2 separate regions of the Homo sapiens genome follow, and region 1 is linked to region 2. The links are contacts of gene promoters, found by promoter capture Hi-C in blood cells and fetal thymus (Javierre and others, 2016). All regions are on one chromosome and are shown on one strand. Each heading gives the region's core, a stretch centred on a gene start or on the middle of the fragment in contact. The rest is flanking DNA. Distances are from core to core; before and after follow the strand shown.

Evidence for each region. The method cuts DNA at HindIII sites, captures the fragments that hold promoters and counts their contacts. A CHiCAGO score of 5 or more calls a contact.
Region 1: a fragment that was not itself captured here is called in contact with the fragment with the promoter of PYCARD in region 2 in 3 of 17 cell types (erythroblasts, activated CD4 T cells and fetal thymus); the score reaches 7.3 in erythroblasts.

What each region holds. Positions count from the first base shown.
Region 1 is chr16:31,722,141-31,724,948 of GRCh38, reverse strand. KRABD5 (KRAB domain containing 5) reads right to left here. Exons shown (of 5, transcript NM_001130913.2): 2 at 2,197-2,323; 3 at 1,596-1,691. Among named protein-coding and RNA genes, the nearest start is that of KRABD5, 10 kb to the right of the region's middle. The HindIII fragment of the contact is 1,106 bases long and covers 884-1,989 here.
Region 2 is chr16:31,201,494-31,204,227 of GRCh38, reverse strand. It overlaps PYCARD (PYD and CARD domain containing), which reads left to right and starts at 1,468. Exons shown (of 3, transcript NM_013258.5): 1 at 1,468-1,811; 2 at 2,025-2,081; 3 at 2,387-2,734. The coding sequence starts at 1,538. The coding sequence ends at 2,643. It overlaps PYCARD-AS1 (PYCARD antisense RNA 1), which reads right to left and starts at 2,343. Exons shown (of 2, transcript NR_102400.1): 1 at 2,242-2,343; 2 at 776-1,768. RefSeq lists a silencer at 1,118-1,477 and enhancers at 1,588-1,817, 2,007-2,637. The HindIII fragment of the contact is 5,508 bases long and covers 288-2,734 here.

The DNA.
Region 1 (2,808 bases), core at 187-2,686, 520 kb before region 2:
AAATACAAATACTGTATAATATCAGTTATTTGTGGAATCTAAAAAAAGGTGAGTTCATAGAAGTAAAGTGTAGAACGGGTCCCAACAGCTGACAGGTGGTAAAACTGGGGAGATACTGGTCAAAGAGTACAAACTTTCATTTAAAAGATAAATTCTGGGGATCTAATGTAAAGCATTATGAATATAGTTTACAATACTCATATATACTTGAGATTTGCTAACACAGTAGATCTTTTTTTTTTTTCTTTTTTTTTTGAGACGGAGTCTTGCTCTCTGTCACCCAGGCTGGAGTGCAGTGGCGCGATCTCGGCTCACTGCAAGCTCCGCCTCCCAGGTTCACACCATTCTCCTGCCTCAGACTCCAGAGTAGCTGGGACTACAGGCACCCGCCACCACGCCCGGCTAATTTTTTTTTTGTATTTTTTAGTAGAGACGGGGTTTCATCGTGTTAGCCAGGATGGTCTCAATCTCCTGACCTCATGATCCGCCTGCATCGGCCTCCCAAAGTGCTGGGATTACAGGCGTGAGCCACCGCGCCCGGCCCACAGTAGATCTTTAATGTTCTCTCCACAAAAAACCTGGCAACTATGTGAGATGATTAATATGTTAATTAATTTATTTGTATTAATCAATACACAATGTATACATATATAAAATCAAACGATCAGGATGCACCTCTTAAATATATATAATTTACAAGTGTGGGAAAAAAATCCACATGAAAGAAGGAAGGAAAAGAAAAAAGAAAAGGAAAAGAAAGAAAACGAACATAAAGAACACATTCTCATTAAGCTTCACAGTTAACCAGACAAAATTATAAAATGTTATGAATATATAAGGTAAGAGTTGAAAGTTCACTATATACTGGACAATGTTGTAAGCTTCCCATAGACATTCATTTAGTTAAGAATTCTACATAGTAAGTAATATATTAAATGATTTTAAATCTGTGGAATTTGTGCATACAGAGATTATATTTCTAATCTTAGTTTAGGCTAGGAAAGATGAAAAGTTGAAGTGAAATACAGAATCAGATTTTTTTTTATATTTAGGAAGATGTTTTGCACTCTGATGAATTACTGAGTCTCAATTTTTGTAGGATCATCTGGGAAACCACCATAGGATTAGAAATTAATATACCAGAAAATATGTGACATCTATCCACAGAATTCCTGGGACTTCTGAAAAAAATCCTACTGTCCATCACTCGCCTCACACACTTCTGACATGAGGCAAAACCAGAACTTTAGAAGTGGTTTCACATAGAGGTAGAAACATGCACAGACTTTCCCAGAGCCCCCAAATCAATGGAAGAACAGTCAGATCACGCAGGCCCTCACAGGCCAAGGGGAGCACTTTGGCTGTCACTGTGAATTTGATGGTGGATCACAGAAGGGTAAGGAGAATAATCAGATAATTTAAGAATATGAGACAGAAGATGTCCCTCTGTGACAGCAGCAAGAGAAAGAAATAAACCCAGGTGTCTCAAAAATCATTTCCACTGGAGAACTTCCCAATCCACACTTCAAGGTCTGGTTCTTTCTTAATCTCTGGACCTCTCGCCCATGTCATCTACTTCATTCACTCCCACCTACCTGGCTGGATGGCTACTGTCTCTGCACTCTTCACATTCCAGGGCTCTTTCCTTTGCTCCAAAAAGGTGATCAGGTCCGGCTTAGAGACAGCGAGACCTGTTTTATTAGAAAAAGTCACATGACTCTTGCTGGGAGTTCTTTAATTGCCAGCTCAGTAGGATACTCAGTAAAGAGGGAACATTATAGAGGATCCTAGAAAATTACTTCCCCAAATACTGTTTCCTGTCAGCTTCTTTAGAATATTCAGGAAGCATTTTAAACACAGGAATCCTGAGCTTCACTTCCAAGTATGACTAAATCAAAAATAAGGAGAAGGAATTAGATTTTAAAGTGTGGGCAATGATAGTTTATGTCACTCAATTTTCTAGAATCACTACTAAACTAGAGTGAAGCTTCTACATCACCTCAAGAAAGAAGGCAAATGTCAAGATCAAACATTAGGAAGTCTTTTCTACAACAAACCCACAATTTTTTTTTCCTGGAAACAGGAATCTGAATTCATTCATATAAAGCATAAGCTCCCAAGTGACATTCTACAAAGGAAAGAAATAAAACCCTTAGTTATTAGATATTAGATATTCCAAAGGCAAGTTATCCTCACCCAGAGAGACCAGGTTTCCGTAGTTCTCTAACATCACATCCCCATATAAAAGCTTCTGATCTGAGTCCAGGTGTTCCCACTCCTCCCGAGAGAATTCTATGGCCACATCCCTGAATGTCAACAGTCCCTGAAATAAAAATAAATAGCACATTGACCATGTGGCCATGGGCAGAGTTCATCACTTGACAAACCAAGATGAAATAAGAGAGCTAAGAAAACTGACTGATTTATATGAGTGACCTGAAATATTCAATAAGATACTTTTAAACACAATAATATTTTCTATGTATTCTCTAACTCTGTGGAAAGAGAATGATACAAAATCCACAAAACCAGTGTAGATACTATGCCTATATGGAATATAAAGTATAAAACTAAGGCATCGAGGCCGGGCGCGGTAGCTCATACCTGTAATCTCAGCACTTTGGGATGCCGAGATGGGTGGATCACCTAAGTTCGAGACTAGCCTGGCCAACATGATGAAACCCCATCTCTACTAAAAATACAAAAAATTAGCTGGGCGTGGTGGCACATGCCTGTAATCCCAGCTACTCAGGAACCTGAGGCAGGAGAATCACTTGAACCAGGAAGTGGAGGTTGCAGTGAGCCAAG
Region 2 (2,734 bases), core at 219-2,718:
TGGGGTTTCACTCTGTTGGCCAGGCTGGTCTCAAACTCCTGATCACCCACCTCGCCCTCCCAAAATGCTGGGATTACAGGCATGAGTCACCGTGCCCGGCCCATCCTGGTTGTCTTGTTTGTTTTTGAGACAAGGTGTCTGTTGCCGAGTGGCACAGAGTGCAGTGGCACAATCATAGCTCACTGCACCCTCAACCTCCTGGGCTCAAGTGACCCTCCGGCCTCAGCCTCCCAAAGCACTGAGATGACATGCGTGATGAGCCACTGCACCCAGCCATGCTGGAAGCTTTTGAATACAACATGCTGCAGGCATCACAGCCTCATTCATTCCTTCACTCAGCAAATCTTTACTCAGCACCTAATGTGTTCCAGATACATTTTTTTTTTTCAGATGGAATCTAGCTCTGTCACCCAGGCTGGAGTGCAGTGGTGCAATCTTGGCTCACTGTAGCCTCTGCCTCCGAGGTTCAAGCGATTCTCATGCCTCAGCCGCCCTAGTAGCTAGGATTACAGGCGCCCTCCACCACACACAGCTATTTCCAGGTACATTCTTGACGCTAGGAATTCAGCAAAGAATAAGACAGTTAAGGTCTCCGATGCTCATAGGCCTCACATTTTAGAGAGGGATGAATGTCCAATAAGCATATAAACGTATAATATGTCAGGGTCGTATGACTACAAGGAACAGTGATTGTTACAACCCAGATGAGAGGGAAAAATAAAGGATTCCAAATATCCCCCTTGGGAAGTAGAGTCAGGATTCAAACAAAGAACTGTATGGCTTCAAGTTCATGGTCTTTAATCTCCTGGAGGCTGTCTCTCTTTCTTTTTTCTTTTTTTTAATCAGTGTTGGGATCAAATTCTGGCTCCCCTAGGAAGCATCTGGCAAGGTTTCGGGAGCCATCGGGTTGGCCATGTTATGCTGGAATATTTATAAGCACCGGAGGGTTATCCCCATGTCGTAGAAAATGAAACTGAAGCTCAGAGAGATTTGCACTCTCTGCCCTTTTGTACAACTCATTTTTCCCCAGTATGTGGAATTGAGGGAGCTTCACGCTTCTAGCTGTCATGATTCCAAGATTCTACGACATGTGGGAGAGGATCCTAAGGTTCGGGGAACCGCGGAGGTTTCGGGGTTCTAGAAATCCGAGGTTCTAAGCCTAGGTGCTCCAATAAACCCAGTGAGAGCCAGCCCAGGTTTCCGGTCTGTACCCGCTGGTGCAAGCCCAGAGACAAGCAGGCGCCACCCATGAGCCCCTCTGCGGCCCCCTCCCGGGTCCCACCTCGCAGGCCAGCTGGAGGGCGCGATCCTGGCGTCCCCCGACGGCCTGGGGCCCCAATCCAGAGGCCTGGGTGGGAGGGGACCAAGGGTGTAGTAAGGAAGCGCCTTTTGCTGGAGGGCAACGGACCGGGGCGGGGAGTCGGGAGACCAGAGTGGGAGGAAGGCGGGGAGTCCAGGTTCCGCCCCGGAGCCGACTTCCTCCTGGTCGGCGGCTGCAGCGGGGTGAGCGGCGGCAGCGGCCGGGGATCCTGGAGCCATGGGGCGCGCGCGCGACGCCATCCTGGATGCGCTGGAGAACCTGACCGCCGAGGAGCTCAAGAAGTTCAAGCTGAAGCTGCTGTCGGTGCCGCTGCGCGAGGGCTACGGGCGCATCCCGCGGGGCGCGCTGCTGTCCATGGACGCCTTGGACCTCACCGACAAGCTGGTCAGCTTCTACCTGGAGACCTACGGCGCCGAGCTCACCGCTAACGTGCTGCGCGACATGGGCCTGCAGGAGATGGCCGGGCAGCTGCAGGCGGCCACGCACCAGGGTGAGCCGCCCCCGTTCCCCTCCACCCCGTCTTTCCCCTCCACCCACACCAGCGCTTACCCCGCGGGCTCTTCCGCTTTCTGTTCCTCCTACCCCTAAACAAAGCTGCTCTACCGGAAAGGAGGCTCCCCACGCTTGGCCTACCGACCAACGGGACCCCGGCCCCACGGCGGGAAGGGAAGGGAAGGGGATCACTTGGCCCATATCCTTCCAGGCTCTGGAGCCGCGCCAGCTGGGATCCAGGCCCCTCCTCAGTCGGCAGCCAAGCCAGGTGAGGCCTCCACACCCAGCCCGGCCCCACCGCACTCCTGCACAGCCTGCATCTGTGCTCCCGCAACCAGGGCAGGGCAGGGCAGGGCAGGCACGGCTTGGCAACCCTGCGCACCCCACCCACCAACCCACACCCTGCGGGGGAAGGGAGACAATATTACCCTCATCCCACTGCATGTGGGGTCCTGGTGGCCGCCCCCTGGAGCCCTGCCCCTAGGCTTGCAGAGGAATTCCTGAAGAACTCAAGTTCAGCAGGGACAGGCCCCACACCCTGGCTGCTGGCTCATGTTCTCCTCCCACCCCCAGGCCTGCACTTTATAGACCAGCACCGGGCTGCGCTTATCGCGAGGGTCACAAACGTTGAGTGGCTGCTGGATGCTCTGTACGGGAAGGTCCTGACGGATGAGCAGTACCAGGCAGTGCGGGCCGAGCCCACCAACCCAAGCAAGATGCGGAAGCTCTTCAGTTTCACACCAGCCTGGAACTGGACCTGCAAGGACTTGCTCCTCCAGGCCCTAAGGGAGTCCCAGTCCTACCTGGTGGAGGACCTGGAGCGGAGCTGAGGCTCCTTCCCAGCAACACTCCGGTCAGCCCCTGGCAATCCCACCAAATCATCCTGAATCTGATCTTTTTATACACAATATACGAAAAGCC